3 separate regions of the Homo sapiens genome follow, and all the other regions are linked to region 1. Evidence: promoter capture Hi-C in human tissues and cell types (Jung and others, 2019). All regions are on one chromosome and are shown on one strand. The core of a region is centred on a gene start or on the middle of the fragment in contact, and the rest is flanking DNA. Distances in the headings are between cores, read along the strand shown.

Region 1 (3,959 bases), core at 853-3,352:
TTCCTCTCAAAAAAACAAACAAAGGTTCCAAGGCTCTACTCCAGAAATTAAGACCCATTATGTGTGGGCTGGGCACAGGAATATGTTTAAATCCCCCCCCACCTCCCCAGGGTGATTCTGCTGCTGAATTAGGTTTTGGAACCACTTCCATGGGGAAAGGGTAAACTAAACTGGAGAATGCAAAAACCTTTTTTTTTTTTTTTTTTTTTTTTGAGACAGAGTCTCACCCTGTTGCCCAGGCTGGAGTGCAATGGCGCGACCTCGGCTCACTGCAACCTCCACCTCCCAGGTTCAAGGGATTCTCCTGCCTCAGCCTCCCAAGTAGCTGGGATTACAGGTGCCCACCACTACACCCGGCTAATTTTGTGTGTGTTTTTAGTAGAGACGGAGGTTCACCATGTTAGTCAGGCTGGTCTCGAACTCCTGACCTCAGGTGATCTGCCCGCCTCGGCCTCCCAAAGTGCTGGGATTACAGGCGTGAGCCACCGCGCCCGGCCAGCAAAAACCTTTTCTAAGAGTTAATTTTGCAGGATGGATCCTGAGCTCCTTCAGGTGTTTGATAACATTTTATTTATTTTTTGAGACAGAGTCTCGCTCTGTCACCGAGGCTGGAGTGTAGTGGCGCGATCTTCGCTCACTGCCCCCTCCACCTCCCAGGTTCAAGAGATTCTCCTGCCTCAGCCTCTCGAGTAGCTGTGATTACAGGCGCCCACCACTATGCCCGGTAATTTTTGTATTTTTAGTAGAGACGGGGTTTCGCCATGTTGGCCAGGCTGGTCTCAAACTCCGGACCTCAGGTGATCCACCCGCGTTGGCCTCCCAATACGCTGGGATTACAGGCGTGAGCCACTGCGCCTGGCTGTTTGCTAACATTTTAAAATTTCAACCTTCCTCTTCCTTAACTGGTCTTCCCCTACCCCCCCTCAAGACGGGGTCTCTCGCTCTGTCGCCCCAGCTGCGGTGCAGTGGCGTGAACATAGCTGACGGCAGAAGACCTCCTGGGCTCAAACGATCCTCCTGGCTCGTGCTCCCAAAGTACTGGGATTATGGCGTGTGACACCACGCCTGGCGTCAAACGTTTGTCTTTTTATTTATTTTATTTTGTATTTTTTGAGACAGGGTTTTCAATCTGTCGCCCACGCTGGAGTGCAGTGGCACAATTTACGGCTCACCGCAGCCTCGACCTCCCGGGCTCAGGTGATCCTTTCGCCTCAGCCCTGCTAATATCTGGGATCACAGACGTGGGTTTTACCATGTTGCCCAGGATGGTGTCAATCTCCTGGGCTCAAGTGATCCGCCCACCTCGGCCTCCCAAATTGCTGGGATTACAGGCGTGAGCTACCGCGCCCTGCCACAAACGCATATCTTCTAACGTACCATTTCATTTACTTGCTATATTCATTATCTGAATTTTCTCATATTAGAATGTAAGCAGAATAAAGGCAGTGATTTTTCTTTTTACTGGCGATCCTCAGAGCCAAGAAGAGTCTGGGACATAGCAGGCCATATAAATGTTTTCGAATGAGTGAATCATCAACGAGTGGATGAAACGATAATGTGGCTAACAGGCAGCAGTAAGGAGGCTGTGTAGAATAAACCCGTAATCCCGATGTTGGCAGTTTGCTTAGAAAGAAAAAGGGAGGCAGTCGGAGAGGGGCACACGTTTTAACAAAATACTGGGAGGAGGAGGAAGGCTAGTTTTTTTTTTGTTTTCAAGTTTCCTTCTGATGTTACTCCCATGCTTCCGGGCACATTACGAGCTCAGTGCCTGCCGGAAATCTCCCACCTGGTGGCAACCTACCCTTGCATACACCCCACCCAGGGGCTTCAAGCCTTGCAGCTGAGTAAACACAGAAAGGAGCTCTACTAAGGATGCGCGTCTGCGGGTTTCCGCGCGACCTAGGCGCAGGCATGCGCAGTAGCTAAAGTCACCAGCGTGCGCGGGAAGCTGGGCCGCGTCTGCTTATGATTGGTTGCCGCGGCAGACTCCCACCCACCGAAACGCAGCCCTGGAAGCTGATTGGGTGTGGTCGCCGTGGCCGGACGCCGCTCGGGGGACGTGGGAGGGGAGGCGGGAAACAGCTTAGTGGGTGTGGGGTCGCGCATTTTCTTCAACCAGGAGGTGAGGAGGTTTCGACATGGCGGTGCAGCCGAAGGAGACGCTGCAGTTGGAGAGCGCGGCCGAGGTCGGCTTCGTGCGCTTCTTTCAGGGCATGCCGGAGAAGCCGACCACCACAGTGCGCCTTTTCGACCGGGGCGACTTCTATACGGCGCACGGCGAGGACGCGCTGCTGGCCGCCCGGGAGGTGTTCAAGACCCAGGGGGTGATCAAGTACATGGGGCCGGCAGGTGAGGGCCGGGACGGCGCGTGCTGGGGAGGGACCCGGGGCCTTGTGGCGCGGCTCCTTTCCCGCCTCAGAGAGTGGGCGGTGAGCAGCCTCTCCAGTGCGGAGGCACGGGGGCGGAACGTTGGTGCTTGTGCGGATTCCGCCGTCCCCAGGTTCTGCTTGGCTCCGGAGGGACGCCCCCCTCAGCCCTGAAACCCGTGCCTCTCCAGCCGCCCCGGATCTGAACTTGTGATCACGGAGTGTTTACGTCGTGCCAGGCATTTTAATGCATTGTTCTAGTTCATTTTCCAGCAGTCGCATTCCTCGCCTTGGCCCTACATGTAGCGCTCATTACAAACACGGCCAGAATCTCTTATTAACAAACAGCAGCCAGGAGTGAGATTTAAAATAGACTGGGGGTTTAGGAGACCCTTTTATGACACGTAATTCTGCTCCCACGACGCTCCCATTTATACCGCCGGTCCAGCTAAGGGTCTGGTAATGGAGCGCCGTTGAAGAGCAGTATGATGAAGTGGTCAGGACCAACGGACTCTGGAGCTGGGCTGCTTGGGATCAAGTCGCTGCCCCTCTGCTTATTAACGTGTGACCTTGGGCCAGTCATGGACGCTATCTGCTTCAGCTCAGCATTCAGTGCTCTCCGTCACCCGACCCCATCTATCCAGGATTATCTCTCCCTGGAAAGCTACAAACGTCTCACCCTATGTGGGCCAAATGTTCTGGATAGGCCTAGTTAACCTCTTCTCTCCCTGTTTTCTTTGCGCTTTCTTGCAGCTATGTAGTTATGCTAATGAAAAGAGCATCCTAGGGGGAGCAGAGTTGTGGATTCTAGTCCTGACTAGAGGACTAGTGCAAATGCGATACTCCTGATGAAAAATGTTTCATTCGTTAGATATAAATGTGTTAGGCAGGGTTATGGACACTAGATGAAAAAAGAAATACCTCTACTTTCATAGAGATCACTATTGGACAGCAAGGCAGAAATAATTACAATTCAAGTTGGAGGCTTATGGAGGTGAGCTTGTAAGAGGTTACAAGAGGCGCCAAGGCAGGATCGCCAAAGACGGAAGACTTTGGAAGAGTCTCATACAACGGAAGAGGCGTTATATGAGACACCAAAGTCCACGTTGAGTCTTGGTGGACTAGAAGTTTGCTAGGGAGAGGGCTTGAAACGAGGTAGATTGGCGTTGCTGGTGTAGAAAAGGAAGGAGACTGGCCCAGGTGGGTGGGGTTAGATGACCAAAGGCTTTTAGTGTGGTGTTGAGCTGTTGAAATTTTATGCTGTAGCCAATGAAAAGTCTGAAATGTTTTTTTTTTTTTTTTTTCTGAGACGGAGTCTTACTGTGTCGCCCAGGTTGGAGTTCAGTGGTGTAATCCTGGCTCACTGCAACCTCCACCTCCTGGGTTCAAGCGATTCTCCTGCCTCAGCCACCGGAGTAGCTGGGATTACAGGCACGTGCCACCACGCCTAGCTAATTTTTGTATTTTTAGTAGAGATGGGGTTTCACCATGTTGGCCAGGCTGGTCTCAAACTCCTGACCTCAAGTGATCCACCCACCTTGGCCTCCCGATGTGCTGGGATTACAGGTATTAGCCACTGCACCTGACCTACAT
Region 2 (3,959 bases), core at 391-2,890, 350 kb after region 1:
AGAAGAAGACAGGAAGATGAGGGAAAATTTGGAACTTCCTAGAGACTTGTTAAATTGTTGTGACCAAAATGCTTATAGTGATATGGACAATGAAGTCCAGGCTTAGGAGGTCTCAGATGGAAATGAGGAACTTTTTGGTAACTGGAGCAAAGGTCACTTTTGTTATGCCTTAGCAAAGAACTTGGAGGCATTGTGCCCCTGCCCTAGGGATCTATGGAACTTTGAACTTGAGAATGATGACTTAGGGTATCTGGTGAAAAAAATTTATAAGCAGCAAAGTGTTCAAGAGGTAGCCTGGCTGCTTCTAACCACTGATTCCCATATGCATGAGTAAAGAAATGATGTAAACCTGAAACTTATATTGAAAAGGGAAGCAGGATGGGCACAGTGGCTCATGCGTGTAATCCTAGAATTTTGGGAGGCCAAGGCAGACAGATCACTTGAGCCCAGGAGTTCAAGACTAGCCTGGGCAACATGGACAAACCCTGTCTCTATAAAATAAATAAATAAATAAGTAGCCAGGTGTGGTGGCACACGCCTATAGTCTCTGCCACTCAGAAGGCTGAGCCCAGGAGGTCAAGGCTGTGCAAGGCAATGATTGTGCCACTGCACTCTAGCCTGAGTGACAGAGACCCTGTCTCAAAACTAAATAAATAAAAAGTAAAAGGGAAGCAAAGCATAAAAGCTTGAAAAATTTGGAGCCTGGCCATGTGGTAGAAAAGAAAAGCCCACTGGCCAGGTGTGGTGGCTCACGCCTGTAATCCCAGCACTTTGGGAGGCCAAGGCAGGGAGATCATGAGGTCAGGAGTTCGAGACCAGCCTGGCCAACATGATGAAACCCCGTCTCTACTAAAAATACAAAAATTAGCTGGGTGTGGTGGCACATGCCTATAATCCCAGCTCCTCAAGAGGCTGAGGCAGGAGAATCATTTGAACCGAGGAGGTGAAGATTGCAGTGAGCCAAGGTCGTGCCATTGCACTCCAGCCTGGGTGACAGTGAGAGACTCCAACTCAAAAAAAAAGAAAAGAAAAGAAAAGGAAAGAAAAGCCCACCTTCGGGGAGCAATTAAAGCCAGCTGCATAAATTTTGCGTAACTAAAAAGAAGGTAAATGCTAATAGTGAAGACAATGGGGAAAGGGCCTTGAAGACATTTCACAGACATTCACCACAGCCCTTTTCATCAGAGGTCTGGAGACTTAGAAGGGAAGAATGGTTTCCTGGGCCAGGCCCAGGGCCCCATCACTCTGCACAGCCTCAGGACACAGCTCCCTGCATCCCAACCACTCCAGTTCCAGCCTTGGCTCAAAAGGTCCCAGGTACAGCGTGGGTTACTACTTCAGAGAGTGCAAGCCAGAAGCCTTGGTGGTTTCCACAGAGTGTTAAGCATCCAGGTGTGCAGAGTGCAAGAGCTGAGGCTTGGGAGCCTCTGCCTAGATTTCAGAGGATGTATGGAAAAGACTGGATGTCCACTCAGAAGCCTGCCACAGGGGTGGAGCCCTCATGGAGAACCACTTCTGGGGCAGTGCGGTGGGGAAATATGGGGGTTAGAGCTCCCTCACAGAGCCCCCATTGGGCACTTCCCTGTAGAGCTGTGAGAAGAGGACCAATATCCTCCAGACCCCAGAATGGTAGATCCACTGACAGCTTGCACCCTGCACTTGGAAAAGCTGCAGGCACTCAACATCAGCCCTTGAGAGCAGCCCTGGAAAGCCACAGAAGCAGGACTGCCCAAGGCTTTGGAATACCACCCCTTGCAACAGTATGCCCTGAATGTGCGACATGGAGTCAACAGAGATTATTTTGGAGCTTTAAGATTTAATGACCACCCTGCTGGATTTCAAACTTGCATGAGGCCTGTAGCCCCTTTCTTTTGACCCATTTCTCCCTTTTGGAATGGGAGCATTTATCCAATGCCTGTACCCTCATGGTATCTTGGAAGTAACTAACTTGTTTTTGATTTTATAGGCTCATAGGCAGAAGGGACTTGTCTTGTCTCAGATGAGATTTTAGACTTTGGTCTTTTGACCTAATGCTGGAATAAGTTAAGACTTTGGGGGACTGTTGGGATTACAGGTGCACACCACCACTCCCAGCTAATTTTTTTTTTTTTTTGTATTTTTAGTAGAGATGAAGTTTCACCATGTTGGCCAGGCTGGTCTTTAACTCCTGACCTCAAGTGATCCACCCGCCTCTGCCTCCCAAAGTGCTGGGATTACAGGCGTGAGCCACCATGCCCAGCCATGAACACAAGTTTCTGATAACTTTGGAGATCATATCATTGGATTAAGTTAAAACTTTCAGAATTCTAATAAACTGATGCATCATTCATGAATATTGCTAACCCAACATCAAGCAGAACAGGAATCAATTATATGGAACTGATCTGATAAAGGGATAAAATGGCTTTTATGACTTTTTATTTGAAACACTGCTGATTGCTTTTATATTTTGTTCTGCAGAATCAATAAAACTTTTGTCTTTTGAGTAATTTATAGCTTATAGACATAGAGTAAAAGATACATTTATTAGCAAAATGGAAACATTTACCTGTCTCTCTCTACCTGATTTCTCCAAAGTTTAAAAATTATTCATGAGTATTCTTATTTTATGGCAATCTAGTTATTAGCATAAGTTTAATAAGAATCTATTCTTCTTGTAAAAAAAAAAAAGAATCTGTTCTTCTTGTAACAAAGCACAGTTGGAGACACTGGTTGTTTTATTAAGGGTTTGACTGAAATATCACATTTTCAGATATGACCAGACAGCTTTAAGGAACTAGGATTGACATTAGGAAGCCAATAAACACCCTTGGAAAAACTGGCCCCATACTTTAAATTTACAGTTCACATGGTTGCCTTGAAGTAAATAAAGAATGTCACTTTCTTTTTCTGATTATTATTTTTTTGAAACAGGATCTCATTCTATCACCCAGGCTGGAGTGCAGTGGCACTCCATCATAGCTCACTGCAGCTTTGAACTCCTAGGCTCAAGCGATCCTCCCATCTTAACCTCCCAAGTACCTGGGACTACAGGCATGCACCACCATGCCCAACTAATTAAAAAAAAAATTTTTTTTTGTAGAGAAGAGGTCTCACTATGTTGCTCAGGCTGGTCTTGAACTCCTAGGCTGAAGCAATCCACGCACATTGGCCTCCCAAAATCTTGGGATTACAGGCATGAGCCACCACACCTGGCCAAGAATGTCACTTTCTGAGAGGCTCAGGAACCTCAGGATATTATGGACACCTGGAGAAAAGAGGAAATCACCCAATTTGTACATATATTACAGGTTCAGTCTAATGGTGAATCCTTGGCTTGGCTTCAAAGTCTTGAAGCTTTTAAAAGTCTAATTTGAAATTCCTTATGAAAGTTCTAGCAGGCTGGGTGCAATGGCTCATGCTTGTAATTGCAGCATTTTGGGAGGTCAAGGCAGGAGGAATGCTTGAGCTCAGAAGTTCAAGATCAGCCTGGGAAACATGGTAAAACCCTGTCTCTACAAAAAATACAAAAATTAGCTGGGCATGTTGGTGCATGCCTGTAATCTCAGCTACTCAGAAGGTTGAGGTGATAGGATCGCCTGAGCTCGGGAGGTTGAGGCTAGAGTGAGCTGAGATCATGCCACTGCACTCCAGCCTTGGCAACACGGTGAGACCCTATCGTAAGGTAAAAAAAGGTAAGGTAAGGTAAGGTAAGGTAAGTTAGTTCCAGCAAAGCCAACTTAAAAGAGCCTGTATGGCCATTACTATTCTTGTTGTACCTTATCAGGCAACATATAATACTAAAACTTGCTTTTGAGGCAGAGTCTTGCTCTGTCACCCAGGCTGCAGTGCAGTGGCACGATCTCGGCTCACTGCAACCTCTGCCTCCTGGGTTCAAGTGATTCTCGTGCTTCAACCTCCCAAGGAGCTGGGACTACAGGTGCACGTCACCACATCCAGCTAATTTTCGTATCTTTAGC
Region 3 (3,959 bases), core at 1,041-3,540, 310 kb after region 1:
GAGTGGGGCCCTTGTTCGATAGAACTGGTGTCCTTACAAGAAGAGGAAGAGGCTGAGTGCAGTGGCTCAAGCCTATAATCCCAGCACTTTGGGAAGCTGAGGCAGGAGGTACGCTTGGGCCCAGGAGTTCAAGACCAGCTTGGGCAACATAACAAGACCCTATCTCTACAGAAAAAAATTAAAAATTAACCAGGTGTGATGGCATGTGCTTGTGGTACCAGCTACTCAGGAGGCTGAGATGGGTGGATGGCTTGAGCCTGGGAGGTCAAGGTTGCAGTGAGCTGTGATAGCACTGCACTCCAGCCTGGGTAACAGAGCAAGACCCTGTCCCTCCCCACACCACCCCAACTCCCCCCAAAAAGGAAGAGATACCAGAGTGCACTCTCTCGATCTCTCTCTCTCTCTTCCACGTGAGGACACAGAAGAAAAAAAAAAAAGCCCATCTGCAAGGCAGGAAGACGGCCTTCAACAGCAACGAAATCAGTCAGCACCTTGGTTTGGACTGCTTGGTCTCCAGAACGAGGGAAAATAAATTAAAATAAATGTCTGTAGAATTAAGCCACCCAGTCTATGATGTTTCACGACAGCAGCCCAAGCAGATGAATACAGGGCTATTCATTCATTCCCCACTTATTGAGCATCTTCTATGAGGCATTCTGATGGTTAATTTTAGGTGTCAACTTGACTGGGCTGAGGGATGCCCAGATGACTGGTAAAACATTATTTCTGGATGTGTCTGTAGGTATTTCTGTGAAAGATGAGCATTTAATCAGTAGACTAAGTAAAGATCTGTCCTCACTAATGAGATTAGGCATCATCCAATTCATAGGGAGCCTAAATAAGACAAAAAGTTGGCGAAAAAGTGAATTTGCTCTCTTGTCTGGGGCTCAGACATCCATCTTCTCCTGCCCTTGGATAATGGAGCTCCTGGCTCTTGGGACTTACACCAGGCCCAATAGATGAGAAGCCCCATCCTTCCCCACTGTCTTTATATCCCCAAACTCCTGGCTAGTGTGCAACAGTGTGGCATGGACTACTCTATTCCTTGCTTTAACAATTGAGTTTACTGCAGAGGTGTAAAATATTCATGCTGAGAAAGGCCTGGGAAGCTTCAGTGAATGCTTCCCAGCAGTCTGGCTGTGCCAGAGGCTTGAAGTCAGGGAGAAAATGAACTGCCTCCTCCTCCTTCTGTGAAGCAGTGCTGGGAGAAGCACATAGTTCTCAAGAGAACACAGTGGCCTGAGCATGCTCTGAGCAGTGGTTCCCAAAGGAGGGTTTAGGAAAAAGCCGAGTCGGGACCCTGGGGAGAGACTGTGGCCCCTACTAGAGGGGTCTTCCGAGGCCACGTTTCTATGATGACCTGGAGAATCCAGGAGATCAGTGGGAAGGGAGCTGCCTCCAGAGGGATTCACCTGCCACCTGAACCAGAAGGAGGCAAAGATGAAGCAGTGGGGAGGCCCTTCTTGGCTGGTAAATCCTCCTGGGTCAGGCACTTGTAGGAGCAGCCCTGTGGGATGGAATTGAACTCATTACTTTTACAACATGCCAAGGACAGGGCCAGGTGCTGGAGATACAACCAAGAATAAAATGCAGCACCTGTTCTCCACAGTTAAGTTAAAAGCACAGACTCGAACAGACAAAATACAACTTGGCTTAGTAGTGGAAGAGCACACTGCACCAAACTGGTTGTCCAGCAAGAGGGGACTGAATTAATAATCTGTGATCTGTCTATACCGAGTAATACCAAGAAACTGTTGAAAAAAATAAGGCATTGCTTATTTTATGATCTGAAATGATGCACAAGAAATATGAAGTAGAAAAGCAATGGGAGCTTCCAGGTAGCTGAATTCCTAGAGGGTGGCAAGCCAGAGAGGGCGAGGAAGCTCTGCACCTCTTCCCTCATACGTGCCCTGTGCATTTCGTCATCTAAATCTTTAAGGACAAAGCAAAAAAACTGCCTGACTTCTTGGCTGACAATTTGGGCTGGATACTGGTTTCTTCCTATTATAATAATTATTGCTTTATAAATTCAGGTATATAAGGCCGGGCGCAGTGGTTCACACCCATAATCCCAGCACTTTGGGAGGCTGAGGCAGGTGGATCACTTGAGCTCAGGAGTTAGAGACCAGCCTGGCCAACATGGCAAAACCCCATCTCTACAAGAAATACAAAAATTAGCTGGGCATGGTGACACGCACCTGTAGTCCCAGCTACTTGGGAGGCTGAGGTGGGAGAATTGCTTGAGCCCAGGAGGTTGAGGTTGCACTAAGTTGAGATTGTGCCACAGCACTCCAGCCTGGGCAACACAGTGAAACCCTGTCTCAAAAAAAAAAAAAAAAAAAAATTTCAGGTATATTAAAAAAAACCTAGGCCTGATGTGGTGGCTCACGCATGTAATCCCAGCACTTTGGGAGGCTGAGCCCAAAGGCTGAGCACTTTGGGAGAATAGCTTGAGCCCAGGAGTTCAAGACCAGCCTGGGCAACATAGTGAGACCCTGTCTCTACAAAAGAAAAAATTTTTTTAATTAGCTGGGCATGGTGGTAAGCACATGTGGTCCCAGTTAGTCAGGAAGCTGAGGTGGGAGGATGGTTTGAGCCCAGGAGGTCAAGGATGTAGTGAGACATGATTGTGCCACTGTACTCCAGCCTAGGTGACAGAGCAAGACCCTATCTCAAAAAATAAATAAATACATATATATATATATATAAAATAAAAATTTTAAAATGAGAAAATCTAAAAAGCAAAGCATAAAAACAATATACACAACAGTTTCTAGGATGGAAAAGTTCACTGGGTTGCCCAGGTCAAAACTTATCTATAGCAGCCGGGCACGGTGGCTCACACCTGTAATCCCAGCACTTTGGGAGGCCAAGGCAGGCAGATCACAAGGTCAGGAGTTTGAGACCAGCCTTGCCAACATGGTGAAACCCCATCTCTACTAAAAATATAAAAATTAGCTGGGCGTGGTGGTGTGTGCCTGTAATCCCAGCTATTGGGGAGGCTGAGGCAGGAGAATGGCTTATACCCAGGAGGTGGGTGAACCAAGATCGTGCCACTGCACTCCAGCCTGGGTGAAAGAGTAAGAATCCATCTCAAAAACAAAACAAAACTAATCTACAATTGGTGGGCAAATAGGAAGCACTTGCCTCCAGGGTGCAGGTGGGCCAAGGTTAGTGGGTGGGAGTACAGAGGGAATCAAGGCATTAGGAACCAACTTAGCAGCAGGACATGTGATGCCTAGGTTGCATGGTATCCATGTTAGGAGGGTCATGGGGAACAACTATTTGGGGTGCAGGTGGGCCGGGGCTAGTAGATGGATACACAGAGGGAATCAGGACACCATGAGCCCACTGGCTGGCAGAGCAGCCTGAGGCCTAGGATGCATGGCATCCACTTTGGAAGGACTGCAGTGAGGTGGTTACCAGGCTGGAGCCAGCAAGCTCACTGAGGAACTTTGTGCATTGGACACGTGGTTGTCAGTCATGCAACAAGAGCAAACAAACATACGGGCAAAAATGGAAGCACTGGAGGCCAGCAGGGTGGCACACGCCTATAATCTCAGTGACTCGGGAGGCTGAAGCAGGAGGATCACTCAAGGCCAGGAGTTTGAGACCTGCCCAAACAACACAGTGGGATTCTGTCTCTAAAGTAAAAAGTAAAAAAAAGCCGGGCACGGTGGCTCATGCCTATAATCGCAGCACTTTGGGAGGCCGAGGCAGGTGTTCAAGAGGTCAGGAGTTCAAGACCAGCCTGACCAACATGATGAAACCCCATCTCTACTAAAAATACAAAATTAGCCAGATGTGGTGGCACATGCTTGTAATCCCAGCTACTCGGGAGGCTGAAGGCTGAGGCTGGAGACTCGCTGGAACCCGAGAAGCAGAGATTGCAGTGAGACAAGATCACGCCATTGCATTCCAGCCTGGGCAACAAGAGCAAAACTCCATCTCAAAAAAAA

Evidence for each region. Contacts are between HindIII fragments. The study calls those that stand out against the background at their distance.
Region 2: a contact is called between a fragment that was not itself captured here and the fragment with the promoter of MSH2 in region 1, in 1 of the 25 tissues and cell types used here (dorsolateral prefrontal cortex).
Region 3: a contact is called between a fragment that was not itself captured here and the fragment with the promoter of MSH2 in region 1, in 1 of the 25 tissues and cell types used here (aorta).

The regions. Positions count from the first base shown.
Region 1 is chr2:47,401,054-47,405,012 of GRCh38, forward strand. MSH2 (mutS homolog 2) reads left to right here and starts at 2,103. Exons shown (of 16, transcript NM_000251.3): 1 at 2,103-2,349. The coding sequence starts at 2,139. RefSeq lists enhancers at 1,790-1,839, 1,844-2,554, 2,555-3,263, 2,630-2,689. The HindIII fragment of the contact is 21,211 bases long and covers 1-3,959 here.
Region 2 is chr2:47,746,933-47,750,891 of GRCh38, forward strand. No RefSeq gene overlaps it. Among named protein-coding and RNA genes, the nearest start is that of MSH6, 34 kb to the right of the region's middle. RefSeq lists a silencer at 1,214-1,367. The HindIII fragment of the contact is 4,372 bases long and covers 1-3,826 here.
Region 3 is chr2:47,709,273-47,713,231 of GRCh38, forward strand. It overlaps a transcript of MSH2 not described here. Among named protein-coding and RNA genes, the nearest start is that of MSH6, 72 kb to the right of the region's middle. RefSeq lists an enhancer at 1-128. The HindIII fragment of the contact is 4,436 bases long and covers 73-3,959 here.